Linked DNA regions of Homo sapiens: regions 1, 2 and 3 are each linked to region 4. Evidence: promoter capture Hi-C in 16 types of primary human blood cells and fetal thymus (Javierre and others, 2016). All regions are on one chromosome and are shown on one strand. Each heading gives the region's core, a stretch centred on a gene start or on the middle of the fragment in contact. The rest is flanking DNA. Distances are from core to core; before and after follow the strand shown.

Evidence for each region. The method cuts DNA at HindIII sites, captures the fragments that hold promoters and counts their contacts. A CHiCAGO score of 5 or more calls a contact.
Region 1: a contact is called between a fragment that was not itself captured here and the fragment with the promoter of PLAA in region 4, in 1 of 17 cell types (total CD8 T cells). The highest score is 7.3, in total CD8 T cells.
Region 2: a fragment that was not itself captured here is called in contact with the fragment with the promoter of PLAA in region 4 in 2 of 17 cell types (total CD4 T cells and activated CD4 T cells); the score reaches 5.7 in total CD4 T cells.
Region 3: a contact is called between a fragment that was not itself captured here and the fragment with the promoter of PLAA in region 4, in 1 of 17 cell types (naive CD8 T cells). The highest score is 6.2, in naive CD8 T cells.

The regions. Positions count from the first base shown.
Region 1 is chr9:19,373,371-19,380,218 of GRCh38, reverse strand. DENND4C (DENN domain containing 4C) reads right to left here. Exons shown (of 33, transcript NM_001330640.2): 33 at 5,938-6,848. It overlaps RPS6 (ribosomal protein S6), which reads left to right. Exons shown (of 6, transcript NM_001010.3): 1 at 1-29; 2 at 601-732; 3 at 1,301-1,511; 4 at 1,705-1,851; 5 at 3,568-3,725; 6 at 3,831-4,504. The coding sequence starts at 24. The coding sequence ends at 3,926. Among named protein-coding and RNA genes, the nearest start is that of RPS6, 3.4 kb to the left of the region's middle. RefSeq lists an enhancer at 1-668. The HindIII fragment of the contact is 2,196 bases long and covers 4,427-6,622 here.
Region 2 is chr9:19,129,157-19,136,337 of GRCh38, reverse strand. No RefSeq gene overlaps it. Among named protein-coding and RNA genes, the nearest start is that of PLIN2, 5.3 kb to the right of the region's middle. The HindIII fragment of the contact is 979 bases long and covers 5,442-6,420 here.
Region 3 is chr9:33,132,296-33,140,071 of GRCh38, reverse strand. It overlaps B4GALT1 (beta-1,4-galactosyltransferase 1), which reads left to right. Exons shown (of 6, transcript NM_001497.4): 2 at 4,648-4,883. Among named protein-coding and RNA genes, the nearest start is that of MIR12117, 27 kb to the right of the region's middle. RefSeq lists an enhancer at 1-319. The HindIII fragment of the contact is 679 bases long and covers 2,743-3,421 here.
Region 4 is chr9:26,941,731-26,949,642 of GRCh38, reverse strand. PLAA (phospholipase A2 activating protein) reads left to right here and starts at 2,401. Exons shown (of 14, transcript NM_001031689.3): 1 at 2,401-2,746. The coding sequence starts at 2,598. It also overlaps a transcript of IFT74 not described here. RefSeq lists enhancers at 2,078-2,387, 1,977-2,650, 2,648-2,907, 2,651-3,326. The HindIII fragment of the contact is 3,001 bases long and covers 1,952-4,952 here.

The DNA.
Region 1 (6,848 bases), core at 4,275-6,774, 7.6 Mb after region 4:
CGGAGGCGTTCAGCTGCTTCAAGATGAAGGTAGGTGATGGTGGCGAGTGTTAGACTGGGTTTGGGGAACGTGAATCGAGTCCCAGAACGCGGCATTGCCTCAGTTCCAGCACTCCAGGATCCTGGCTTTAGGTGGAGAAGGGTCTCAAGTAGGAGAAGGCTCGCCTTTCTGGGGCATGGAGCTTTTTGGCCGAACGGATGGCAGGCGATTGCGGCTGGAGCCGCGGCGGGCCGGGAGCGCCATGGTGGCGTCCCCGCGCCCAGCCGGGACGGATGCGGCGTGTTGCCCAGTTTGCGGCAGGCCTGTGGTGCGGCTCTTGACCCCGGCTTTCTTGCTTCGGGAGGGTGAACGGCTGCGGAGTGCCCTCGCCCCCAGAGTCATTCCGCGGGGCTTGAGGGGAAAACGTCCTGCTGAGTGCGGCGCTTCTTGACTGCTACTCTGCTTTCACGTGCTTTTAGTGAGTACAGTCGGCATCTTATATTTCCTGCTTGTGTGGAGGCAACATGAAAGGCTTTTTGCAGTGGAATTAACTTTGTAGATGGCTCTACAATTACCTGTATAGATAGTTTCGTAAACTATTTCCCCCCTTTTAATCCTTAGCTGAACATCTCCTTCCCAGCCACTGGCTGCCAGAAACTCATTGAAGTGGACGATGAACGCAAACTTCGTACTTTCTATGAGAAGCGTATGGCCACAGAAGTTGCTGCTGACGCTCTGGGTGAAGAATGGAAGGTAAAAGTTGACAAATTGTTGCAGGTATTTAAGTCAGAGACGGTAAACGCCATTGGTAACTGGTATTTGGAATGGGGTTCAGACTCCGGGTTCTGGCTTCTGACCTTTGGTAAGTTGCTTCCGAATGCCACTTTATAAAGTTAGAGGTATTACCTTGGAGGGGGGGACGTAGAGTAAGCCATAAAATATACGTAAAGTTTACATCAACATAATTCTTGCCCTGCATCATGCATTTGGCAATATGTCACATAGCTGTCCTCATAATCCCCAAAGTGCCAAAAAGGGTTGTATCTGATTTGTTTGTTGCTGTTTGATATTTTATCTTCTTAGTGCTGTTATCTCTAATAAAACATCGGTTAGAAATGCGACTTGAAAGACATTTGATAATTGAACTTGACAAGTTGGGAATATAGACAAAACTCACTGAACAGAGAAAACGTGCTTAAGTTCAAATTGGTTTTCATAATTATACTTTCTCATATAGGTGTGTTCACAGAGGTCACAATCCTGTACTGTATAATTTTGGAATAGAAATAGTAAATGTGTCATTCATTGTATGCTCTTGCAGGGTTATGTGGTCCGAATCAGTGGTGGGAACGACAAACAAGGTTTCCCCATGAAGCAGGGTGTCTTGACCCATGGCCGTGTCCGCCTGCTACTGAGTAAGGGGCATTCCTGTTACAGACCAAGGAGAACTGGAGAAAGAAAGAGAAAATCAGTTCGTGGTTGCATTGTGGATGCAAATCTGAGCGTTCTCAACTTGGTTATTGTAAAAAAAGGTGAGGGTTACTTGTGTTCAATTTTCGTTGAAATTGATTTAAAGCCAGTTGTCCAAATGCTTATTCATTTGCAGTATCCAGACTTACAGACCAATGGATTTGTTTCTCTACCATCAATTCAACATTAAACATTCTGATTTAGGATTCTTAAGGAAGTTGTTGAATTAAAATCTCTTCAACTGTTTCTTCTAAGGAGAGAAGGATATTCCTGGACTGACTGATACTACAGTGCCTCGCCGCCTGGGCCCCAAAAGAGCTAGCAGAATCCGCAAACTTTTCAATCTCTCTAAAGAAGATGATGTCCGCCAGTATGTTGTAAGAAAGCCCTTAAATAAAGAAGGTAGGAGGGATTATGCAATTAGGGCTTGCTTAATTTTGGTAATTTGTCTATCATTTTGTGTGCATATCAGAAGATAAATATGTGCCTTTGGAAGGCCTTAGCACTATTCACTTGGAGTTTTTACAGAAAATATTTGGGGGTGGCCAGCATACCCAGTTGGTGTTAATCCTTGCTTATTATATCCAGTGCCTTGTAGAGTGCAGTAATTTCGTTGAAAATCTGCTTGTGAATCTTTGATGTATACATTATCCAAAAATAACCTGACTTTAAGGTCATTGCTATCTGGTTTAGGAGTCACATGTTTGAGAATTCTGGGACTATTAGCACCACACACTTTGTAATTTTATATCAGATGTTCTAAATTATTAATATTTTTTAAGAGATGAGGTCACACTGTTGCCCAGGCTGGTCTTGAACCCTTGAGCTCAAGTGATGCTCCCACTTTGGCTTCCCAAAGTGCTGGGATTATGGGCGTGAGCCACCACACCCAGCCCAAAATTATTTTTTGGCTTACAAAAGAAGTTGCTTTAAACTTCTGTTTCATCTGTAGGATATGGATAACAATAGTTAAGAGTTGTGAGAATTAGAAGTTAGAGACCTTACTCAGAATACTAGGGAGCAGGTGTTAGGGATTTTGGAGCTTTACCTTTTAAGAACTTTTGTCCATATAGTAGACAACATACTCACCAGTGAGGACCTCAAATAGCAATATTTCTGTGGTGAAATTTGGGGATATTTATGTTAAATAAACAGCATGTCAGTCAAGGTTGGGTTTTCCTGACAAAATTTGAAAGAATTTCTCTGGATTTTGGTTTTCAGGACTGGTGTGACTTAACATACATGGCATAGATAGTATACGTCTGTTAAGTCAGTAATTACACTTACTTGAGCACAGGTACTGTTCAAGGTGCTGAGAATACAGTATAGACAAATTCCTACCCTTATGAAGCTGATGTTGCAAAAAAAAAAAAAAAAGCAATTGACAAATAGGTGGCAGTTGCCCATAATCATAGCCCTGGAAATAATCCGTATAATACAAGCGTGGTCTGGTTGATGGGTATTTTTAGATGGTTCTTATGTCTATAGTAGGAGGCTTAACATTTTAGCAGAATCTGAACATCTGAGCATTTAGCCTAAGGCAGTTAACTCCTACAAAGTGTCCATGAAACAAATACATCTGAAAAGGCCTATGCTCCAATGCAGATCTGTAATCCATGAGCAGTTTTGGAGTACAGATCAGATTAATGAAGATACTTTAACAACATGCCACCTAATCTGATGTTAATAGTTAACGTTACCCCTGAATTGGCAGGAATTGTCAAAGGAAATAGAGATGCAAGCTTACATCAAATTTAAAAGTATGGCAGGATGATTATGTAGATAATGTGTTAAGTGGTTTTCACAGACAAATTAACTATGCACAGTTATATATTAACATAATGCCACTGTATTTTAGTAAAACTGGAAGGTAGTAAAAGTTAGCCTGGTTATTTTTCAGGACTTGGTTTCCCTTATATTTTTATAATATTTAACCAATCTTCTAGATTTCTGTGGAGGGGCAAAAAGCATTTTAGAATAGTTCTGATTTGATTTTAAAGGCCTCATTATAGGTTTTCATAGATGCTGTTAAGCTTACGTTTATTTCTGATGTTTTTAAAGTAGATGTGGATTCTAACAAAACAAATATTGAAATGATTGAGTCCTTTGAATTTTTAGGTAAGAAACCTAGGACCAAAGCACCCAAGATTCAGCGTCTTGTTACTCCACGTGTCCTGCAGCACAAACGGCGGCGTATTGCTCTGAAGAAGCAGCGTACCAAGAAAAATAAAGAAGAGGCTGCAGAATATGCTAAACTTTTGGCCAAGAGAATGAAGGTTAGTCTAAGATGATTTGAGGGGGTGGGAGGAGTTCGACCTGGCTTTGGATTTGCGTCTTTAACCCAGAAAGGCCTTAACTGTTTGCTGTTTTGTTTTGTTTAGGAGGCTAAGGAGAAGCGCCAGGAACAAATTGCGAAGAGACGCAGACTTTCCTCTCTGCGAGCTTCTACTTCTAAGTCTGAATCCAGTCAGAAATAAGATTTTTTGAGTAACAAATAAATAAGATCAGACTCTGATCTCTGTTGACTTTTCATTGCTGATAGAAAACTACATAAATGAAGAGAGGGAAAGTTAGGTCATAGAAAATGGGGATATGTATATATGGTATTCCAATGGTGGATAAAGTCAGACCTATTGTGTGTGGTAGTGGAAGACAAGGTCAGTGTACAGGGGTTCCTTTCAGGGGATGGGTGGCACAGGAAGGGATTCTGAGCATAAGACACCTGCCTCTTCAGAATGGCATGGAACTTAGGGGAAATGATGAGGACTATTAATCTTTTTTATATAGTTTATTTTTGAGGAATATAGCTCTTTAAAGCACTATACACAATTTAATACATGAAAATTGACCTTGTGAAGATGAACATGTCTTTTTTAAAAGGTAACTTTTAAGGCATAGTTTTAGTGGATACCTAGTTTTAGTGGATACCATCCACTAAATGGTTTTTAAGCCATTTCAAATTTGTTTTAACAAAGCTTTTCAACTCCAGTGAATTGTTAGGCTGTTCACACACTGAAAAGGAAATGACTAAAAACATTCTTGGATCAGTGAAAAATGCACAAAGTATGTACTTTTTTCTAACAGTTCTATGCTGACTAGCCTATTGTGACAATATCAGGATCTTTAGAAGGTGGCACATTAGGCTTTAAGGTTGAAGTAATGCAAGCTCTTTGTTGGCATTACTGTAATAATAGCTTTACAAAGCAGAGTTCTAAATGTTAAATGTACATGTGAATCACCTAGGGGTCTGGTTAAGGCGCAGATAGTGATTGATAGAGGAGTGGGGACCCACATTTTTACATTACTAAAAAGCTCCCAGGTGTTAGGCCGGTAGTGCCAGTCCCTCGATGCCTACTAAGATTCTTAACTATTCCTCTTACTACATGGTGTTAAAAAGCTACATAACATGAAAAGAATCTTAGTTGGCAATCAATAATAATATGCAGAACTTAAAAGGCAAAGGGGATGGCCAGGTGGGGAGGCCAAGGCAGGTGGATCACCTGAGGTCAGGAGTTCAAGACCAGCCTGGCCAACATGGTGAAACCCCGTTCCTACTAAAAATACGAAAATTAGCGCATGCCTGTAGTCCCAGCTACTCGGGAGGCTGAGGCAGGAGAATCGCTTGAACCAGGGAGGTTGAGGTTTCAGTGAGCCAAGATTACACTGTTGTACTCCAGCCTGGGCGACAGAGCAAGACTCCCATCTCAAAAAAAAAAAAAAAAAAAAATTTAGCACAAGCAGAGAGAGGAACTTAAAAGCCACAAGGTGAGTCCAGTGTTATGGTCCAAAGTTTTATATTAACCAGTTCTTGTTTATGATGCACAAAACATGAGAACCGCCCTGCTTTCTGAAAATTGAGTGCAGCCACAAAATAAGGACAGTCTGTTTTTCCTTAGATTTTTTTTTTTCTTTGACACAGGGTTTCACTCCTACGCCCCGGATGGCGAGCAGTGGTATGGCTCACTGCAGCCTTGACCGCCTGGGAACTACAGGTGTGCACTGCGGCTAGTTTTTGTGCTTTTTGTAGAGTTTTGCTATGTTACCCAGGCTACTCTTGAACTCCTGGGCTCAAGTGATCCGCCTGCCTTGGCATCCCAAAGTGTTGAGATTACTACAGGCGTGAGCCACCATACCCAGTTCTCCACACACACGCAAGTCATTCTGACATGTCGTTAACTATGCAGGTTGTGATCAACCTGTACAATTCGTTCGTTGGAAGAAAAAAAAATCGCTATCGAACCCCAAACCAATATAAGGTACTGCTGAGTAATCTGGACTAATTTGAAAGATTGCTTTTAGAAGTTATCAGGATTAAAGTTGCATACAGTGCTACAAGTCATTCCAGGTACTTCTAAATCTTTCCATAATAATGTTTTTGTCTTGTAAATTTTTAGTGGTACCCTCTCTGTGGTGGGTATTGGAAAAAGCCTTTAAAAATTTATAACAAGAAATCAGTCCCAATATCTAAATGGCAGCAGCAGACTAAAGTTTTCAAGGTAGAGATCTTTACAGATTTTTTTTAATGGGAAGCGCGTCAGTAAGTGAAAACTTGAGTTCAAGTTACGAGTGAAGGAATGGAAAAAACAAAATATTGGGATTCTAAAGATTACAGATTTCAAGAGGCTTAATGTAACAGAAAACAACAATTTTTCATTTTATTCAACCTCAATTTTTATATGCAAGGTAATTCCAAACTTCTGTTGGGTCAGTAAGTGTTAAGTATTAAAACTAGTACCAAGTCTTGAGTTGCAAAAATATATACTCTCAGACAGTGCAAAAGATCCATTTTGAAGGTAATGAAAATTGTACATAATTTCTGACAAATTGTTTCATTTAGCATTTTCACAATAAATTCACACTAGAATTCTGCATAGGTCAGATTAACCCTGAAATGTTGAAAGACTGGTACAATAACTATAATTTGTAAATGGTTACATCAGGTAGAAGGGAGTTAGGTTGTTACTGTACCATATGGAAGTAATTTTACTGTGTCAACTCATTTAGTCATCTGCATAATTACTGTAAACACACACAAAACCAATGGCTTTTTAAACCATGCAGAGAGTTAAGGCAAACTTACTGTTCCTAAGGGATATTTTTAATAAAAGGCATGATAAATGTCAAAGTGAGGCATGTGAGATCATGATTTTCTTAAACCTACTGGCAACAAGCTTAATAAATTTACAGTTTTAAGACTTAATTGATTCAACCTAAAAACACAGTATTTACAAATGCACATTTTTACTCACAAGCATACAAATCTAAATATACAAGAATAAAACTTCCGTGTGCAGTGCAAGTTTATCCCACAGGTTTTAAAAAGTCATCAATACCAACAATGTATGTGCCTGAAAAAAGATTTCATGTTCAATGACATACACTTTAGCATTTTAAGCACA
Region 2 (7,181 bases), core at 4,682-7,181, 7.8 Mb after region 4:
CACAGAGAAAGTGGAGTTTTCCAGAGGGTCAGGCAATACAGACAGAGGGAGCAGTATATCTGAAGAGGAGCTATGACAGGGAGGATGAGCTTAATGAAGAAAGGGATGCAGGTGGCTGTAGCTGGAGCACATGGAGCTCTTGGGGGAGGGACGAGAAATTATGGGAAGAAAGGGAGGCTGTTGTCTTGTCTCTGGAAGAGGAAACTCCACTGCCAGATTTTTTTTTCTTGCTATATCAATATTACTTTGCATCAGCAACATACCCAAAGAAGCCTGAGTTGCTATAATACAAACTCTAGAAAAGGTGGCTTTTCCAGCAGAGTCTCCTATACTTCTTAGTCTAGGAAGGCAGACTGGAAAGGGCCTGGGATATTACTGGTCCCTTGAAGTCCCTTCCAATAATCCTGTGAGCTGAGCTCTCTTCAGCTCAATGCCCAGGAAGGCTTTCTTAGGCAACAGTTCTCGGGGTGTGTTCAAACAAACAAACAAACAAACAAACAAAAAACCATGAATAATAGCTACCATTTCTATGTGCCTGGCATTATTCTGTTGAGTGAATTGATTCATTTAATCCCCACAAGTCTTATGAAGTAATCACCGTTATTTTTCTACTCCTCAACTTTTCAAAACTTTTTTCTTTTTTTTTCTTTTTTTTTTTTTTTTTGAGATGGAGTCTTGCACCTGTTGCGCAGGGTGGAGTGCAATGGTGCGATCTCGGCTCACCACAACCTCTGCCTCCCGGGTTCAAGCGATTCTCCTGCCTCAGACTCCCCAGTAGCTGGGACAATAGGCATGCGCCATCACGCCTGGCTAATTTTGTATTTTTATTAGAGACGGGGTTTCTCCACGTTGGTCAGGCTGGTCTCGAACTCCTGACCTCAGGTGATCCGCCTGCCTTGGCCTCCCAAAGTGCTGGGATTACAGGCGTGAGTCACCGGACCCAGCCAACTTTTTTTTTTTCATTAAAAAAATTTTTTTACCAGCCTGGCCAATATGGTGAAACCCTGTCTCTACTAAAAGTACAAAAATTAGCTGGGCATGGTGGTGCGCACATATAGTCCCAGCTACTCGGGAGGCTGAGGCAGAAGAATCACTTGAACCCAGGAGGCAGAGGTTGCAGTGAGCAGAGATCACCCCACTGCACTCCAGCCTGGGCGACAGAGTGAGACCCAATCTTAAAAAAAAAAAAATTGTTTTAGCCAGGCACAGTGACTCACGCCTGTAATCCAACACTTTGGGAGGCCGAGGCAGGTGGATCACCTGAGGTCAGGAGTTCGAGACCAGCCTGGCCAACATGGTGAAACGCCGTCTCTACTCAAAATGCAAAAATTAGCCGGGCGTGGTGGTGGGCACCTGTAATCCCAGCTACTCGGGAGGCTGAGGCAGGAGAATCGCTTGAACCCAGGAGGTGGAGGTTGCAGTGAGCTGAGATCATGCCACTGCACTCCAGCCTGGGCAACAGAGTGCGACTCCATCTCAAAAAAAAAAAAATTAGCCAGGCATGATGGCACATGACTGTAATCCCAGCTACTCGGGAGGCTGAGGCAGGAGAATTGCTTGAACCCGGGAGGCAGAGGTTGCAGTGAGTCGAGATTGCGCCATTGCACTCCAGCCTGGGCAACAGAGCAAAACTGTCCCCCCCCAAAAAATTTTTTTTTTTAATAAAGATAGGGTCTCGTTGTGTTATGCAGGCTGGTCTTGAACTCCTAGTCTCAAGCAATCCTCCTGCCTCGGCCTCCCAAAATGCGGGGATTATAGGCATCGGCCACCATTCTCAGCTCACAACTTTTTATTGGAAGTGTAAGATCCATACAAAAACATATATGTCATAAGTGTACAGCTTGATGAATTTTCACAAAAGAGCATACACATGTATGTAACTAGCTTCCAGAATAAGACATAAAAAGTTACCAGCACCAAAAGGCCCCTAGCAGTCACTAGTCTTCCCACCCCCAACTCCCTGCAGAACAACTACCATCCTTACTTTTTACAGCAGAGCTTACTTTGTTTTTGTATGGTATGAACCTGTAGGTAACTGCTTTCATTTCATTTACATTACATTGCATATATGTGGTTAGTTATGGGTCTCTTCATTCTCTCTTATCACTGTATAACAACCTAAACTTTTCATTTTGAAACAGTTTTCTAAACCCACAGAAAAGCTGAAAGACCAGTACAATGAACACTCATATAACTGTTTTTTGTTTTGTTTTGTTTTTGAGGCCTTCTTATTCTGCTGCCCATGCTGGAGTGCAGTGGCGCCATCATGGCTCATTGCAGCCTCTACCTCCTGGGATCAAGTGATCCTCCTGCGTAAGCCTCCTTAGTAGCTGGGACTATAGGCACACGCCAACATTCCTGGCTAACTTTTGTATTTTTTTTGTAGAAATGGGGTCTCCCTATGTTGCCTGGGTTGGTCTTGAACTCCTGGGCTCAAGCAACCCTCCTGCTTCAGCTTCCTAAAGAGCTGGGATATAGTTGTGAGCAACCGCACTCAGCCTTATAAAACCTTTACGTAAAACATGAAGAGCTATTATTATCTCCACTTTACATATGAGGAAACTAAGACAAAAAGAAATTAGGTAACTAGCCCAGGTCATGCCCCTGGGATCTAATTTTGCCTAGCTTGCTGCTTAGTCATAAAACTATAGCCAGATCATATAACTTATCTGAGACTGTTTCTTTACTGTTAAGATGGGAGTAATAACCCCACTCCATCAAGTTTCCAGGCTGTTGTGAGGCTCAAATATGAGCGACATGGGAAAGTGCTTTGTGAAGAGTAAAGTGGTGGCACCTATCGTCACAAATGCAGGCTTCTGGGCCCCACCCCTCATAGATCTTGACTCAGTAGGTCTGGGGGAGGAGGCATAACGTTTGACAAACATCTTCGGTGATTCTGATAGTTTCCAGACCACCATGAGAAAACACATTTGTAAAACAGTAGCTTTCAAACTTTAGAAATTATAAGAATCACTTGAAGGAATTATCAAAACACAGATTGCAGGGCCCACACACAGAATTTCTGATTTACTAGGTTTGGGGTGAGGCCTGAGAATTTGCATTTCTAAGTTCCCACGTGATGCTAATGCTATTGACCCAGGACCCCCACTTTGAGAACCACTGCTGCAAAGCATTTATATAGGTCAGTTATGAGTACTGGTTAACCTGATAATCCACGATAATTTTATTAAGAGTGACTTCTAAGAAATAATAAGTTGGGGCCAGGCACCGTGGCTCATGCCTATAATCCCAGCCCTTTGGGAGGCTGAGGCAGGATTGCTTGAGGCCAGGAGTTCAAGACCAGCCTGGGCAACATAGTGAGACCACATCTCTAACACAAAATAAATAAAAAAGAAAGAAAGAAAGAAAAGAACAAATAAAAAATAGGAAATATTTATAAAAAAATTATTGGGCACTCACAAGCTGAAACAGTTTCAACTATTTATTCAACACCTTAGTGAACACCTGCTCAGTGCGGGCATTATTATATGTTAACTAGAGGTTACAAAAAGAAAAAAAGTTTTTTGACCTCAAGGAAAAAGAATGTATGAACACATAAATAATATTGTGTGATAAAGGCAAGCATAGGCCGGGTGCGGTGGGTCACACCTGTAATTCCAGCACTTTGGGAGGCTGAGGCAGGCGGATCACGAGGTCAGGAGGTTGAAACCATCCTGGCTAACACGGTGAAACCCCGTCTCTACTAAAAAATACAAAAAAATTAGCCGGGCATGGTGGTGGGCACCTGTAGTCCCAGCTACTCGGGACGCTGAGGCAGGAGAATGGCGTGAACCCGGGAGGCGGAGCTTGCAGTGAGCCCAGATCGTGCCACTGCACTCCAGAGTGAAGACTCCGTCTCAAAAAAAAAAAAAAAAAAAAAAAAAAAAGGCAAGCATAAATGTACAAAGTACAGAGGTGCAAAGATGTCTGAGTGATAGATTCCATCTAAGGTAGTCGGGAGGTCTTCCTGGGGGTGGTGGCATCTGTCCACCACCCTCAGGTGGGAATTTGAAGGATAAATTCCCAGTGAACAAGGTGGAGACAGCATGAGCAATGACATACAGGAATCCTATAATAGGATGTGTTCAAAGGACTGTAAGTAAATCTGTGTGACTAGAGCTTAAAGTTTAAGATAGGTGCAACACAAAGTATCTGAGACAGGACTCAATCAATTTAGAAGTTTATTTTGCCAAGGGTAAGGACACACACATGGGAGACAGGTCTGTGCCTTTCTCCAAAGATGATTTTGAGGGTTTCAATATCTAAAGGGGAAAGGAGTGGATACTGGGGAGAGGAGAAATTGTTAAGGGGTGTGGGCCAGTAAGAGGCAAATGGTTGCATTCCTTTGAGTCTTTGATTAGCCATTGACATGTGAGATGGGGGGGTAGAGGAATAGTCACGCATTCATCTAGCTCAGTGAATCTGCATTTTTAAATAAGATAAAATAAACATAGGCCAGAGGGAGCAATCAAATATTAATTTGTCTCAGGTGAGCAGAGGGATGCTATTGTGTTCTGTCCTATGTCCCACATCTGTGAATATAAGCTATCAATTTACATTGTGAGGATGAAATTCAACAGAACTTTTTAGGGTAAAGATCTTGGGGCCCACAAGGAATTTCCTAGTGGGCAAATTATGAGGGAGGTATGTAGCTTTTTTGTTTTGTTTTCTTTTGAGACAGAGTCTCACTCTGTTATCCAGGCTGGAGTGCAGTGTCTCCATTATAGCGGTCCCCAACTGCAGCCTTGACCACCCAGGCTCAAATGATCCTTCCACCTCAGCCCAGCAAGTAGGACTACAGGCGCATGCCACCACACCCGGCTAACTTTTGTATTTTCTGTAGAGACGGGATTTCACCATGTTGCCCAGGCTGGTCTCAAACTCCTGGGTTCAAGTGATCGCCTGCCTCAGCCTCCCAAAGGGCTGAGATTACAGGCATGAACCACTGCGCCTGGCTTATGTAGCTTATCTTTGAATAGGAGGTTTGTGTGACACAGTCCCCAGCTTGACTTTTCCCTTTGGTTCAGTGATTTTGGGGTCCCAAGATTTATTTTCCTTTCACACAGGTAAAGTCCGGAGAAGAAGCTGGTGAGAAAGAGACAGGAGCCAGATGCTGAATGACGGTAAATCGAATCCTGGAGGGAACCAAACAAAACCCTGAAAACCTCCAGGAATCTCAGGTTGGCCAAATCCTTGGTAATGTCCTGCCACTCCCCAGGACTGCCACACTGTACACACCCTATCTAATGGCAACCTACTGCAGGGGCCAAGGAAAAACGTCTCCTTTGTCCTCTGGAGGTTCACTGAAAAATCAACTGGCGGAAAGCAAATTAACAGGTCAAAAGATATACATGTATTATTATAAAAAGACGTAAATGTATTATTGGGCATGTGGGGGAACCACAGAGTAATTACTCCACCTCTCAGTGGGCTCAGAAGCTTATATACCCCTCCTGAGGTTACAGAAAGTTTGGGGGCTCAGAGAATGGTGGTAAATCAGGATTTAGTGGCAAGACAGAAATGGAAACTTGGCTAGCAAAAGTCATTTCATTATGTAGATTGGGGTCCCCAAACTTTGGGCCATTTACACTGTGGCCATTTACATTCCTGTTAGGAATAGGGCCGCACAGCAAGAGGTGAGTGGCGGGTGAGTGAGCAATACCGCCTGAGCTCTGCCTCTTGTCAGGTCAGCAGCTGGTATTAGGTTCTCTTAGGAGCAAGAACGCCGCTGTGAACTGCACATGCAAGGGATCTAGGTTGCGGCTCCTTATGAGAATCTAATGCCGATGATTTAAGGTGGAACAGTTTCATCCTGAAAACCATCCCCCTGCCCTGGTCCATGGAAAAATTGTCTTCCATGAAACCTATCCCTGGTGCCAAAAAGGTTGGGGACCGCTCATGTAGATGAAACCTCACAGGTAGTAGCCATTGGAAAGAATAGATGGTTGATGTTTCTTTCAGACCTTTAAAGGTGTCAGACTGTCCATTAACCTTTCCTATATCTGGACGAGGGAAAACCTCAGAGAGCACCTGGCTGCATCAATGCAGATTTTCTCTGTATATTGCAAGCCTCTCTCACACACACACACACACACACACACACACACACACACACACACACACACACCAAACAGCTTCGTAGGACTACTTCCGCCTGCAGGTCCTCTGAACAGCCATATCTCAAAATATGTGAAAGAAGTATATTTTGGGGTAAAATTTTTTGGTTTCCTTCACTACACATCTCACCTTGGGTGTTATTCTTGCCACTGGTTTCATGTTCTCAGACTCACGAAGCTGAAAAACAGTTGGGGATGCAGAATTTGATGTGCTTCATCCTTTGTGGGCTTGAAGAGTCTCTTGTTCCCAAAATTATTCCCTGGGGCCCTCTGCTTCACAGGCAAATAAAAGCAAAAAGAAGCTTGCTCAGCCTTAAGTGAGGAAATGACTCACAGGTTTAAAACAAAAAAGGAAAAGATGGAGGCATTTTGTAGGTGAAAGGGCGAGAGTCTTCTGATGCAAAGTAAGAGGTCATTAGAGCAGGGATGGATTATCAATAAGCAGAGCAAACATTTGCTTAGGGAACAAACAGCGCCGGAACACGAAAAAGAAAAGAAAAACATAATAATTTAATTACTTAAAACACTGAAGATGGCAACATAGGAAAAAACCCAAACCAGAACATTTTTGGACTTCATAACATTTTATGGTTCAGTATTTATGGCTTAGTATTTTATTTTGAATTACATGTGGGGAGGAGGGGTAAAAATACTTTAATTTTTCTTGCTAAGTAAGTACTATTATATATTCAGGTATAATGGGATAAGGGATACCATTTTAATGGGTCCGTTTGGAGCTTTAAATATGATCAACAGTATCTGTGTGCATGCAAGATTGGTTAAGAAACTGGGTTAGACCGAGTGCGGTGGCTCACGCCTGTAATCCCAGCACTTTGGGAGGCCAAGGCGGGCGGATCACGAGGTCAAGCGATCGAGACCATCCTGGCCAACATGGTGAAACCCCGTCTCTACTAAAAATACAAAAATTAGCTGGGCGTGGTGGCCCGCGCTTGTAGTCCCAGCTACTCGGGAGGCTGAGGCAAGAGAATCACTTGAACCCGGGAGGCTGGGGTTGCAGTGAGCCAAGATCGCGCCACTGCACTCCAGCCTGGCGACAGAGCGAGA
Region 3 (7,776 bases), core at 1,833-4,332, 6.2 Mb before region 4:
GCAGTGGAATTTGTCTGAATTGAGCTCACACATTGAAGTTATTGAGCGACTTACATGCAAGGCCATGACCTGGACTCCCAGCCGAGAGGCCCACGTGGCGGGGCTTGAGCTGGGGGAGCCGAGGACAGCTTACATCTGCTCATCTGCTTACGTAACCCTGCCTCCCAGCTTCCAGAGCCAAGAAAACACACAAGCCAGCCCAGCGGGGCCGAGAGCCTGTGGTAGCACACGCCATGCGCCGCACAGCAAGGGCGCCTTGGCTCGGCTTGAGGCCTGTCATGAAGCCCTCAGCCCTCTGCCTCCTCCCAGAGCTTCTCCCCACCACCCCAGGCAGTGGCTCTGAAACCTGGTCGCAGGTCTGCATGATTCTGAACAGAGGTAGTCGTTGCCTTCCTGGAGTCTGAGCTCTCTGGAGTTTCTCACTGGGACAGAGCCAGGTGTGTAGCAGAGCATGGTCCCTGCAGTATGGCAGGAGGTGTGCAGGGCATTCAGGAGGCCTCCTGGCTGGCACTCGACCCAATTAGTCATTCAACGCCAGGTCTGGGGCTGCTGTCTGTTGTCTCAAAGGTGTGAGCTGCAAGATCCTTAGAGTTGTGGAGAAAAAATTGCCAGATTGGCAAGAAGGGCAGGATTGGGGGTCAAGGTGTCTCAGTGTGTTGGAAGCATGATGGGGGTTGTGCAAGGGGCACAGCGAGTTCAGAAGGGAGCAGGAGAGTGAGAAGAGGCTGTTCAGTGATAAAGCTCTGCACAGAGCCATTGGAGGAGCAAGCTCCTTGACCATCCTTAAACCAGGGTAATTTTCATTTAGGTTCTGCCACACGCTCAGCAGGGAACTCCTGGAAGGCAGGATTTGTCTTGTCCATCCTCCCTCCCTACCTCAACCCACTCCTCCTTGGGCTGGCACACAGTAGGTACCCAGAAAGTATCAATTGAAACAAATTGAAAGTGGTCTTGATACATATCACAGGGCAAGTTTGCAGTTAACAGACATTTCAGAGTAAAGACTCTCTGGCTTGGTGCTCGATCGGCTTCTGTGGGTTGTCAGCATGCTGTGGACAGCCCCGGCATGGGAGCGAGTGGGCGTGTGTGTGTGTGTATGTGAGGGTGAGAGAGCGTTAGTGTGTGTGTTGGGGTTGGGGAGAGAGGAGGGGGAATAGAAGATGGACCACCCGGGTATCAGCTTCTGCCCTGGGGAGATGGTGGTGTCAGTTGCTGAGGGAATCCTGAGAAGCAGGTCTGGCTGTAGGTGGTGATGGTGGTGGGGTTGCATGAGAATCCATTTGGGGCAGGTTGAATTTGAGGTGCCCATGACATATGGCTAGCCATGTTCTGTTGGCTGTGAGGTCAGGAGAGAGACATGAGATGGAAACAGAGGTTTGGGAACTGTCATGTGCTTAAACCAAAGACCTGGGTATAGGGAGAGTGAGAAGAGAAGGGGGCAAAGATGGACATCCAAGAAAGAAGCTGAGAAAGCCTAGGAATTTGAGGTAAGAGGAGACGTAGGTAAATGTGACGCTTGGTGATCAAGGCTTCTTTCCACCTCTCCTATGCTGGACACTCACGTCTCCTGTCTGCTTGGAAATTCATGCTGAGGGCAGGGAAGGTGGGAGCAAGGATTTGTCTAAAGATCTTGCTTTGGATCCCTGCACTCCTCCTGGTTTACCAAGTGTCACTGGACACGTCAGGGCGTTCTGAGACCTTAGAGAGCATCCAGTCCTGTCCCTGCAGTTTACAAATGAGGAAACCAGTACCCTGAGAGTGGCTGTACTATCCACTCTCAGGATACCAAAGATCATCTGGAAAGTCACTGGTGGAGCTGGACCGGGGCCCAGGCATCTCTTCTCCTGTCCGGGGCTCTTGACTTCAGGACCACCTTTCTGAAACCCATGATGGGGCAACACCAGGACACTTTCCAGCCTGCAGGTGTCTGTCCCGCGGAAGCGAGCCAGGCCACATGTGAATTCCTGTTTTCTGGGTGGGTTTCAGAAGGTACGAGCAAGTCGGCAGGGTGACAGCCCAGGTGCTTCTTGGGTTCCCCAAAACGCGGTTATGTTTAGCAGCATCCTCAGAACCAAAGGTGGGGTGGGGGCTGCAGATGTTGTGGGGGCCCTCTGAAGTGAAAAGAGCCCTGTGACAGATCTTTTCTTCATGTTTTTCACAAGTTCACTGTGCAGCAGGGCCCCCCCAGTAGCCTTTGCCCAGGGTTGGGTGTTGGGCAGCCCAGGCCTGGCTGACCTTGTGGGGAAGGGTGTGAATGGTGGGAATCCCCGAGGGCCCTCTTTGCCCGAAAGCCCTAAGCCTTGACATCAGATGCCCATCAGATGGTCCATCGGAGCCCTACTACCCAGCTTGCCCAGTGAGAATCATCTGGGCTCCTTGTTAGGTAGCCATTTAGGTCCTTCCCAAAATCCACAGACTCTCTAAGGGAAGGGCCCGAGATGCTGTACTTGTACTAACTTCCTCAAGCAATTCTTGTGATAGGTTTGGGAAAAACTTGTCCAGGGTGACCACTGACTGAGTCCTGGTCTTCTCTGAAGAGCACAGTGCCTGCTCACTTTAGGGCACCCTGGGAGGTGGGAGCTGGCTCAGCAGGCAGTCTTATAAGGGACTGAGCTTCAAGGCCTCTGTCCCTCCAGGAGGGAGGTGCATGACCAGAGAGGGAGGCCTGAGGATCTTCTTCCCTGCCCCAGAGGGTCTGCTGCCTGAGCTCTGTGATAGCGCAGAGAGTAAAAGGATCAAGCTTGATTGAGGCCTATCTCTCAATGCGAAAGTTTGCTAGTTAAGAGGAGAGTGGGAAGGGCATTTCTGGCAAAGAGAAAAGTGTGGACAGGCATGGCTTAAGGGATGGGGAGGGAGACAGACAGAGCTGAGGGTGAAGGGCCTTTTGCTCAGCTGTGGGCCTTGGCCTTCCCTTGTGCAGGGACACACAGCCTTAGAGCCACTGGAGGTTTTAGTGGGAAAGTAATATGGTCGGGGCTGTATCTCAGAAGAAAACAAACTAATGGGAACAGGTCCTGTGATGGTGGACCTGGGTCAGCTACGGAGGGAGGGAAGATGTGAGATGTGTACTGGGGAAGGGGGTGGAAGTGGCAGCTATCTGGTGAGAGGAAGCAGGCCCACAGCTTTTTTTCTCAAGCTGTTGAATTCAGAAGGGCGAGTGATTCCGGGAGTAGGGGGTGCTTGGAGAGCCACGCGTTATTGATAAACAGGGCAGGCTGAAGCCTGCTCACTGGCCCTGGGCGGGTTCTCACCAGCATGTTTCAGGTTTTGATCTGTGCTTGTGGTTGGTGTTCCTACCTGTTCTCTAGGTTCCTTCCTTTGTTCTTGTGGCTCATTTGCTTCACAGGTGAAGCTGGTTACACTAGAGTAACAGTTCCCAAAGTGTGTTCCCTGGAAAAATGGTTCTGTAGCCAAATAAGCTTGGGAAATGGTGGGTTAAATATAACGAAGGGGGTTTTTCGACTGCACAACTTCTCAGAGCCTTTGGTGTGTGTCGTGACTTTGCAGAAGCAGGATTTAATACGCAGCATTCCCGTTCTTATTTGACCACGAGACATGTTTTTCCATTAAGCATCTTGCTGGGTCTGATGTTTTCTGGAACCCATTTTGAGGCGGTCTGGTCTGCAGAGAGTATGGGGAGCCTGGGTTCAAGCCTTGGCTCTTGACTCTCAGCAGAGCCTTGATTCCCTGTGTTGCCTGGACTGCACCACGTGTACCACATACCCGGTATGTGACGTTTTCCTCATCCCTCTTCCCACCTGCCGTTACCTCACAATCCACAATCTGCACCTCATCCATTTTTCTTCTGAGGCAAGCACTCTCTTACTAACTTACTTATCTCATCTGCATCCATGTTCTTCTAGGCCAGAAACTTGGGAGTCATCCCTCCCTCTTTGTTACTTCTTCTTCCTCTTTGTTACTTTATCCCCTCTGTTACTAAACATTCTTCTGTGTTTCCAGCTATTTCTTTTATTTTCCCTCGGTCTCCTTTGGGGTTTCTTTGCCTCCATCTCTCCCAGACCTTGGTTCACCTTCCATCGAGTCCCTTCCTGGGACATGGGCACTCATGCCACTCCTGCTACCTTCCACTTCGAAGCTAACTCCCTCCACACTGACGTCCCCAACATGCATGCATACACACACACACACACACACACACATACACACACACACACACACACTTCCCCAGTTAGGCTAGAATCAGAGAGATGATGTCAGCCATTTGTCCAAGGCCACGCAGCTGGGAGGTCACAGAGCTAAGTCTCAACCTCAGGGGTTTTGAGAAATTGCCTTCTCATCCGTGATCACTGATTTCTACAACAGCCTGTCAGGAAGTCTGGGTAGAAATTACTTCCATTTTACAGTGGAGTCAGAGCGGGGAGGGTCCTGGGCAGGCGAGTGCTTCACAGAGTGACCAACCATCTAGGTTTGCCCCACACTGAAGGGGGTTTCTGGGGATGGTTGGTCACCCTAATGCTGGATGTGGTGCCTGATGCTGGGCAGGAGGGCCCTCTCCGTGGCCACGTTGCCTCCCAGGAGGAGACATTTCCTCTGCAGCTGCAGCTGCAGCCTGGCCATCTGATGCAGCCTGTGGAGCGGTGGCGAGTCCTGTGGCCTGCTAACTTCTCCCTCCCTCCACCTCTCTAGTGGGCCCCATGCTGATTGAGTTTAACATGCCTGTGGACCTGGAGCTCGTGGCAAAGCAGAACCCAAATGTGAAGATGGGCGGCCGCTATGCCCCCAGGGACTGCGTCTCTCCTCACAAGGTGGCCATCATCATTCCATTCCGCAACCGGCAGGAGCACCTCAAGTACTGGCTATATTATTTGCACCCAGTCCTGCAGCGCCAGCAGCTGGACTATGGCATCTATGTTATCAACCAGGTGAGGCCTGGGAAGGTGGAATGAGAGAGGGTGTGTGTGCATGCAGATGTGTATCAGATGTGTGTGTAATGAGGGCAGGGGAAGGGGAGTGATTTCACAGACACCTGGCACTTACAGCGAGGAACCAGCCCCCCAGCCACCACCAGTGCAGATGAGGTAAACGCCAAACAGTGTGCTTGCCTATTGCTGTCAACTCTATAGCCAAGGGAAATGCTGGAGTGTTTTCGTTGTTCTGTTTTTGTTTTCTGGAAGTAGCCTTCCAGCAAGATTGGGAAAAAAGACAACCCTAATTATTCCAAAGTACACACTGATTATTCCCTGGCTTTGTGTAGCTGTGTATTTTCCTTTTAAAAATAAAACCACCATTTAGATGTCAGACTTTTAGGTAACTTCAAAGTTTATCCAGTCAGTCAGAGCGTGTCTCCTGGGGCACCTGGAGACAGTGCCCTTAGTTCAGGTCACATGCCTACATGCCAGCCCCTGGTGAAATATCTGGAGAAGTCTGATTCGTGGGCCATCTGAGAGTTATGTGGACTGGGCCGAGTCTGAGAAAAAGTTTCTCACTGCTCGTCTGATCCATATGTGTTGGGCTTTAGCCCTGCTTAGGAAAGTAATGCTAAGGATAGGTCAACTTTCATCACCATGGCATGGAGAATCAGATTGATCTAAGAGGCATCTTTATTGAAATAAATTTTTCAGTTTATTTGAGGAGCATTATTTTCCCAAGAGTATAACTTTGATATTTCAAGATTACCCCTAACACTTAAATTCATGTTTTTAGACTATAACCTCCTAGGTGCAATGACACATCTAACTTATCTAAGCACCCAGTTTCATTGAAATTCATTTGAAGAGTCTGAGTACGCCCATTTCTACAAGGCCCAATGTCCATTTCATTTCGAGATAAACTCTGCTTTAGGTAGGAGGATTGTTGGCAGTTTACGGCTTCCATCAAGGTCAAGGAACTCTGTGCACCTTCCCTATGACCCCAGGGGAAGCACTCGAGGACTGCTGTGGCATTGTGCTGCATCACTTGCTGCAGGGAGATTCTGAAGAAGTGTAAGGTCTCAGTCCTGCCCTGTCCCGAAGCCTCCAACCCACTTCTGGCAAGTGGGACCTTCCCAGGGAACAATTTGTTAACAGACCCAAATATCCTGTGATTGGATGGTGGCTGCCAAATGCTTTGGAAGCTCAGAGGAAGGAGAGAGAGCAATGGCTTGGAAGAACCAGGATATAAACTAGGTTCTAAAGTCTGCAGGGAGATGGGCTTCTCAGCTGGGGCCAGTGAGCAGGGACCTTAAGGCAGAAAGGAGCCTTGCATGTTCCTGGAAATTGAGATGCCCACTGGGGTAGGAAAGCACCAGAAGCTCTGGGACCAGGTGTCAGAGTTAAGCCTGTGAGGCAGGAGAGAGCAGAACAAGCCCTGTTACAAGGAAACTGAAGCAGGAGAGCAGGTGGTGGGCAAACCCCTTGAGGCTGTTTGAATTCTTCGGCCAAGTGAGGTACAGACCAGGGCCCTATGAACACCTGCAAGCAAGACAGCCACGCAGTTGTGGGTCACCTTGGAAGAATATTGGAGAATGCAAGAGAGAACAGGTAAATGTCCTGCAAAATGCGGGTCACTTTAACCCAACACATATTCATTTAAGAAAAGCTCTGTGATTGAGAAACATTTGTCTGATGCCAGTTAGCACATACCAATGACGGCAAGATTCAGGAGCCTGTTATTAAAGCAGTGGCAGCGAGCACCTGGAAGAGGCGGCCACCATCACCAGGAGCCAGCAGGGATGACTAATAAGCCGTGCCAGCTGCATCTCGTTTCTCTCTTGACAGTTGCTATGCCAGTAGATGAGGGATGTACTGTGGATACAATGCTGTCATATCTTATTCAGCAGGGCATCTGATAGCATCCCACAAATCTGCCTGAGTAGAAGACAGACAGCTGTGGTCTGGGTGCCATATAGGTAGGTTAAAATATATATTTGGGCCTAGGCGCAGTGGCTCATGCCTGTAATCCCAGCACTTTGGGAGGCCAAGGCAGGCGGATCACTTGAAGTCAGGAGTTCAAGACCAGCCTGGCCAACATGGCGAAACCCCGTCTCTACTAAAAATACAAAAATTAGCTGGACATAGTGGTGGGCGGCTGTAATCCCAGCTACTCGGGAGGCTGAGGCAGGAGAATCTCTTGAACCCAGGAGGCAGAGGTTGCAGTGAGCCGAGATCATGCCACTGCACTCCAGCCTGGGCAACAGAGTGAGACTCTGTCTCAAAAAAATAAAATAAATAAATAAATAAATAAAATATATACTTGGGTAAAGAGGATAAAAGAGTTAGCGATGATGCTGAATTTTTGAACTGAGGTGGCTGTTTTCAAGGAAGACTGGAGGGTGGGATGCTACGTCTAGATATGTTGCAGTTTAGGTGAATGTGAGACTTCCCTGTTTTGAAGTCAAATATTGGACCAGTAAAATCTAGCCATCAGCTTAAATTCCTATGATACAATTTACATACTCCCCAGGCTCAACACAGTAGATTTCTGAATGTCCTCTGCCAGCTACATGCTCCTGCCCACCTCAATCCGAGTAGATGGAACAACTAACCAAGCCAGCTCAGACCGGTGGCACAGCTGTGCTGGCTAACACTGGGCACCACCTAAGAGAGTGCTTCTCCAAAAGTGTGCTTCCCCAAATGGAGCGAAATACGCTTGAGGAATGTTGGGTTGAACCATGTAAAGCAGGTCTCATTCCCGCAGAGCCTTTGGTACCCCGGTGTACACTGTAACCCCAGAAGTGTTTCCTGAGCTTGCCTGACGAGACAACTTTTCCAAGAACCGTCTCAAGTGATGAGTGTTTTGTGAGTCACACTTTGGGGAAAGCGGGCCTAAGTTAGCATC
Region 4 (7,912 bases), core at 1,152-3,651:
CATCTTTCCCTGCTGCAACATTTGTAGTTCTCAGTGCATTGGTTTTTTGGAAGGCAGCAGGCAATTACACAGGGAAATGTGAAATTACACATTTCCCTGTGTAAAAGAACACAGGGGCAATTACAGCACGAGGGGAAAACTTTTATAAGGGGTTGGTGGAAGCAAGACTAAGAAAATATACTTACTTGATTGGTTAAAGTGGAAAGTCCTTAGTTAGAGGTTTGTCTGTTTCTGTTAGTTAAGCTTAAGTTTCATTTTACTGTTTACATTGAGTTGGGCTCCAGAGCTGGAACTATCTCAACCTAATGGCCTCCAAATTAACATTTTTTAAACAAGGCAAATTCTTCATGTGTGAAATGGGAATAATACTATCTACCTTGCAGGGTTATTGTGAGAACTAAATGAGAGACTGTGAAAATTGGTAAACTGAATACTATACCAAGTTGAAAAACATTTCCTATTATATAGGAGGCAGTAAATTAGATGGTTAAGATTCATGTAAAATAAAGGTCTTGATAATAATAAAATGTAGTCCGGTAGAAAAGACAGACATAAAAGAACATATTAGAATGCAGTAAATACTATATTGACAACAGACAAAACTGCATTGGTTCCCCAGAGGAACTAGAAAAAAACAGAAGATAAACTGGTGTTGAACTATGACAGATGGAGAAAGTGGAATTCTAAGTTTAAAAAAAAAATGCATGTACAAAGAGCATAGAGACATGGAGAGCATACAGCATAATGTGTTCAGGGAATTGTGACAAATTCGAAATGTCTAGAGTAAGAGAGATAACAGAGGGAGATGAATCTAGTAAAACAGATTAGGGAGATTGTGTGAAAGGCCCTATGTAATGCTGTACTATAAGAATGGAAAGCCGGCCAGGCGTGGTGGCTCACGCTTATAATCCAGCACTTTGGAAGGCAGAGGAGGGCAGATTATGAGGTCAAGAGATTGAGACTATCCTGGCCAACATGGTGAAACTCGTTTCTACTAAAAACACAAAATTTAGCTGGGCATGGTGGCGCGCTCCTGTAGTCCCAGCTACTCGGGAGGCTGAGGCAGGAATCGCTTGAACCCGGGAGGCGAGGGTTGCAGTGAGCCGAGATCGCGCCACTGCACTCAGCCTGGCAGCAGAGCGACACTCCGTCTCAAAAAAAAAAAAAAAAAAAAAAAAAAAAAAAAAAAAAAAATAATGGAAAGCCATCACAGGTTGTCAAACAGAGAAAAAACAATTAAGTGTATATTTCAGAAAGATAATTATATTTTAATGTGTAGGATTGGCTGGAGAGAAGGGGTAGAAAGGCCAGAGAAATGTTGAAATAATTTAAGTAGGACTAATTGGTACAGATTTCTAACAGATAGCTAGAAATACAGATCTAGAGTTTGGAGAAGACAATATGGGAATACAGCTCTAGAAATAAGCCAAGTAGTAAATAATCCACCCAGGGAGGGGATATGATAGCAAAGAAGTATCAAAAGTCAGCATTTCAAGAATGATCTCCCAAACCAGGGGAAAAGTGATTCCAAACCTAGAGTAGGAGTTTTAGGAAGGGAGAAGTCAGAAAAGTGTGAATTGGGCTTAGCAATTTAGAAAGGTTTGTGGAAAAGTGTAGTTGGATGCGAGAGAATAGCGGATGGGAAGAAAACAAAGTAAGGAGACAGGTCATGTTTACCCTGGCACTCAATAAGGTCTGATAATGACTAGCAAGTAGCACCACGGGTGGGTGGGCGGCGGGGTTGTTAAAAATACGTATCTCAGCTCTAACTCAGACCTACTGAATCAGAATCTACATTTTAACAAGCCGCCAGAGAAAAGTAGTTATACCTTTAAAAAATTGACTTGGACCACCGTATTTGCTAAATTTGACAACAGAGAGTAGGAGATTCAGATAACTTGAAACGGAGGAATAGTTCAATGATTAATAGTTCCCAATTTGGCCTCAAGCTTTCTCGTTTTAATTGAAAAACAAGGTTAACTTGCAAAAACCTCGAGATTCTCAGGGAAAAGCAGTGAGGATGACCTAACAGTAGACACCAAACAACCTCACTCAGCCATTCCGCCATGCCCAGCGCGAAAGACTCAGGTTTAAAATATCCGGATTCGGCGCGCCGGATGTCCACGCCAGCTGGCGCGGCATTATGGGAATTGTAGTCCCGGCCCGCTTCCCGATTTACCACAAACTGTTGGGCCCGGAGTCGGAAGAGACCCGGGTTTGGGAAGGACCCCAGGGTCAGGCGTCCTGGTGGAAGGGCGGGCCTCTTTCTCTCTTGCTCAGCAGGGAGTCCAGAGCCCTGGAGGAAAGCCAGCTCAGCTCCGCATCGGCGTCGGCGGTTGGGACGCACACACTCTGCGTCATGGAGGGCTGAGGCCGATGATGAATTCCGGAGTGCCTGTCAGGCTTGCTGTGTCACTCGGCCCGCTCGGCGCGCCCCTTCCCAGCCGCCCTTCCGTACCGGCTCTCGGGCTCTTCCGGTCTCCGGCCGCCCCTTACCTGCAGGCTCTTCTCCCGCCGCGGCCCGGCGCTCTCCGAGTCGCCCCTGCGGACTGGTCTCGCACAGTGCCTGGGCACCGGGCGCCAGACAGACACTGGCCATGACGAGCGGCGCAACCAGGTACCGGCTGAGCTGCTCGCTCCGGGGCCACGAGCTGGACGTACGGGGCCTGGTGTGCTGCGCCTATCCGCCGGGAGCCTTTGTGTCCGTGTCCCGAGACCGCACCACCCGCCTCTGGGCCCCAGACAGGTGAGCGCTGGGAGTCGGGTTGCCCCGGCTGTGTTGCACGCTTCCCGGAGAGTGGAAGGAGAGTGACCCTTCCCTGTCAGTCCTGCCGTCTCTCTCTCCCCCCAGCCTTCCCTCTGCTCTCCGCTCCCTTCCAATTCTCAGACTATTAGAACTCTGTAAGAAACCATCGGGATTTAAGTGGAAAGAGCACAGGGTTGGGGGACCAAAGACCTGCCTTGTTGTGCTAACTTGACCACAGACGAGTCTCCTACCTTTTGGGCCTTCAGTTTTTGGACGATGATCTCCCAAGTTTCTTTTAGACTTGAAAATTTACTGATTGCAGTTGCACCCTCCGAAGTGAGGTAGTTTGAAGGCATCTGAAATGTCCTCTTTTTTTTTTTTTTTCGAAGAAGATGCTCTGTAGTCTTCTGTAAAATTTAATTTTTGAAGACTTTAGTTCTCAAAAATTGCACTGGTGAATCCTCTTTTCGTCCAGGTTAGAATTTTAGTCTGTGGTCTGTGCTGGTCCTGAGGGAGTGAAACCTCTCGGATGTTTTGTTTCTGTGCATGTGCTGTTTCTTGAGGAGAAGCAGCATCCATTGCCTTCAAAGGATTTATCAGAAGGGTTCACGAACCAAAAAAAAAAAGAAGAAAAAGGTTAGGAATCAGTCCTGATCGAGTTCACGGGTTCAGCCCTGATTTGGCTGGTTGTAACAGGATATTTAAGACCTAGAAGACAGATTGCAGTTCAGAGAAAGAAAAATTGAGGTTAGTTATTTTGTTATTTAGTAGGTCTCCCACTGCTAGAGATTTTAGAATTTGAGTCACCATCCATAAATTCAGTTGATAACTGTTGAGTGCCTCCTCTTTGTTTGGGATACTGGAGAGGAATAAAGACAGACAAGTTGCCAGTGTTTCTGGAGCTTTCTTACAGTCTGATGGGGAAGATAGATTAAAAAACAAGCCAATAAATAATTAAAAACTGGCATGTGAAGAAAACATACAGTTAATTAGGTGGAGAGATATATTAAAGGAAGCCTCTCTGAGGAGTTGTTTGTTTAAAGTTGACATTTGAAGCATGAGATGGATGGAGCTGGTCGTGGAAGAGCAAATAGGGAGGATTGAATTGGAAGAGCATTCCAGGCAGCTGGAGGAGCAAACAGGAGGGAATTAGCTGTGAGGTGAGGGCAGGTTTTGAGGCTGGCAAGAGCCAGGTTATGGAGTTTGCAGATGGAAGCCTTCAAATAGTTTCAAGCAGGGAGCAACATGATCTGATTTCCGTGTTGAGAAGTTTCTGCTAGCTGATGGTAGAGAATAGATTGAGAAGGGATAAGTGTAGAAGTGGGTTTGCTTGGAGGCTTTTGAAGTAGTATAATCAACACAAGATGGTCCACTAGGCTAGGGATAGTATAGAGCAAATTCCTGTATTGAATTGAATGAGATGATCTCTAAAGATCTAACTCTAAAATTCTATAATATCCAAAACTACTTAGTAATACTAATATGGAACTTTTTGTTTGAGTACAGTTATTAAGTTTTTGCCTTTAAAATTGAATCCAGTAGAAGCATAAGCCCAGTAGAATATAACCATTGCAGTAAGGAGTATAATCAAGGATGCCTGTTTTAATAATGGAATCCTGTCATTAAACTTTTGGGACTGTACTAGTTTGACAAGGGTTTAATCACTGGAGTGGTTGTGCTTACCAGGAACTTGAAGAACTTTGGGCTGAACTGATTCTCTATTTGAAAAGTGATTTTGTTGTTCATTGAACTATTGATTTTTTTTTTTTGAGACAGAGTTTTGCTCTTGTTGCCCAGGCTGGAGTGCAATGGCACAATCTTGGCTCACTGCAACCTCCGCCTCCGGGGTTCAAGCGATTCTCTTGCCTCAGCCTCCCAAGAAGCTGTGATTACAGGCATGTGCCACCATGCCCGGCTAATTTTGTATTTTTAGTAGAGATGGGGTTTCTCCATGTTGGTCAGGCTGGTCTTGAACTCCTGACCTCAGGTGATCTGCCCACCTTGGCCTCCCAGTGTTGGGATTACAGGCGTGAGCCACCACGCCTGGCCGAACTCATGATTTTTTTGTTTTTGTTTTTCAAAATTCATTCCTGTATGTATTTATCTAACACTGATGAAGAACTTGCATTTTGCCACAGTGTGTGTTAGTGCGTAGTGAGATAAGATTATTTAGTCTCTCATATCCTGCTGGTTAGGTTAGCAAGCTTGTCCATCCTGTGGCCCATGGGTGGCTGTAAGAGTGGCCCAACACAAATTTCATAAACTTTCTTAAAACATTATGAGGCTTTTTTTGTGATTTTTTTAAAAATGCTCATCAGCTATTGTAATTATTAGTGTATTTTATGCGTGGCCAAAGACAATTTTTCTTCCAATGTGGCCCAGGAAAGTCAAAAGATTGGATACCCCAGGGTTAGAGTGTTTCATAGTCATTAGGTGATTAAGCTCTTATTGATGCCAACTGAAGTGTCTCAACCATACCTTTAATGTTGTAAAAGTGTCCTCAAATCTGACATATTGACAATTTTTATTTCATGATACATGTCTTCTCTTTTGTGTTGCTGTAGCAGAATACCACAGACTGGGTAATTTGTAAAGAAAAGAAATGTATTTTTCATAGTTCTGGATGCTGGGAAGTCCATTATCAAGGTATCGGCATCTTGAGAGGGCCTCTTTGCTGCTGTATCATCCTATGGTGGAAGGGTAGGAGAGCACACAGCAAGAGGCGCAGAGGGGCCAAACTTGCTTTTGTAACAAAGCCACTCTCTAACCCAGTCCCGCAATAATGACATTAATCTATTCATGGCGGCAGAACCCTCTTGATCTAATCACCTCTTAAAGGTTCTACTTCTCAACATGGTTGCATTGAAGGTTAAGTTTCCAGCACATGAACTTTGGGGGACACGTTCAGGCCATAATAGAATATTTGTGTGATTTTGTTTTTTTGACACAGGGTCTTGCTTTGTTGCCCAGGCTGGAATGCAATGGCATGATCACTGCCTTATTGCAGCCTCGACCTTCTGGGCTCAAACAATCCTCCCACCTCAGCCTCTTAAGTAACTGGGACTACAGGCAAGAACCACTATGCCCAGCTAATTTTTATTTATTTATTTTTGTAGAGATGAGCGTCTTACTAGATTGCCCAGGCTGGTCTCAAACTCCTGGGCTTAAGCAATCCTCCTGCCTCAGCCTTCCAAAGTGTTGGGATTAAAGGTGTGAACCACCACTCCCAGCTCATAACAGCATATTAATAGAGTTAATGAAATGCTATAAATGTTTGGAGTGAAGTCGTAAATGAAATTTGCTTTCCCATGTAGCCAAGTGGTAAATGAAATTTACCACTGTAAATTTGAATCAGTACCACTGATTCAACTTCAAATTCTTTGTTCATTACTGAATTGCCTCTTACTGAATCTGACCTGGTCTGTCTACCTCTGATGCAAATGAATTTACCACTGCTTTCCATGTATGTTGTTGCTAAGGTTCTAGATCAGGGTAGTAAATGTAGGGATGGACTGGGAATAATGGGGAAAGTTAGTTCTAGGGAGGCAGAAATAGTTCTGTTTTAGAGTAGACTAAACCAGGTACCTAGTCTTTCACAAAAGCCCTTTGAAAACCCAGAAAGTCTTTGGACCTTCAGAGTGGAGACATATCTGTTGGTTGGGCATTGAACTGAGCCAGCAACATGCCATTGTTTCAGACTACTTCAGGTCTCTATAAGCTAGCTTCAAGCTAAATTACATTTCCCAAGTCTGTCGTTGACTTCTGGGTGGGGAGAGATGAGTGAGATAGGACTTCAGCAGCTTTGCCTTTATATTGCCTTGCCTTTTGAAAAACGACCCATGCTTGAAGACACATCTTCAGATATAGGATCTGATTATATTAATCTATATTAATAGATTTTTTAGTTGTAATCTATTAGTTCCTACTGTAGAATATGAGAATTTAGCTCTCTTTCTGCCTTCCACTCACCCCATCACGTATGCATCTTTTTCTGTGCCTTTTTTTTTTTTTTTTTTTTTGAGACGAGTCTCGCTCTGTCGCCCAGGCCGGAGTGCAGTGGCGCTGTCTCGGCTCACTGCAAGCCCCGCCTCCCGGGTTGACGCCATTCTGCCTTAGCCTCCCGAGTAGCTGGGACTTTAGGCGCCCGCCACGGCGCCCGGCTAATTTTTTGTATTTTTAGTAGAGACGGGGTTTCACAGTGTTAGCCAGGATGGTCTGGATCTCCTGACCTCGTGATCCGCCCGCCTTGGCCTCCCAAAGTGCTCGGATTACAGGCGTGAGCCACCATGCCCGGCCTCCGTGCTCTGACTCTTATAATTTAAGCTGTGGAATAATCTATGATAACTCTTCCTCAACAATTTTATGATCTGCATGTGGCTAATAATTGTTTTATTTTGGTTTTCATTTGCTTAGCTTACTATGTATTTATCACTGAGTCAATTTCAAAGTCTTTGTTCGTTACCGAATCACCTCTTAAGGCCTTTAGATACATTGGATATTTTACAATTTCCTCTCCTGACAATGCAAACTTTCTGACCTGGTCTGTCTACCTCTGATGCACAACTAATCCTAGGATTTCCCTTCATTGTTGTTTCCAAAACAACTTTTTTGAACCTCATATGTTGGATTTTTATTGTCAGTATCCTTTAGCTTTCTCTTGGTTGGTTTTCTTCCTTGTTGCCTTATTGGAACATAACCTCTAAGAGCTTCCTGAAATGTAGTGCATCAGTAATAAATGTTTTAAGACCTTGCAAGTCTGAAAGTTATTTTATTTTGCCTTGTTACTGGCATGATAATTTGAATGGTTGTAGCATTCTAATTTTAAAATAATTTTCTTTCAGAATTGTGATGGAATCCATTGTATTTCATCTTCTAGTGTTACTGTTGAGAAGTCTGAAGCCATTCTGATTTTTGAACTATTTTTTTTTTCTTTCTGGAAGGCAGTCTACTTCTATCCATTGTTCCAGGCCATTGGCGGGCCCTTTTAATATGAAAACTCATGTCCATAAATTCTGGGAAATGTTCTTCAATTAATTCTTTGGCTGCTTTCTCTTTATTTTTTCTGTCTTCTTTTTTCTGGAACTGTTTTTATTCAGATATTGAACTTGCTTTCTAAATTTCTCTCTTTTTTTTTTTTCTTGGCTGTAATCTCTAGCAGGTTGCCTT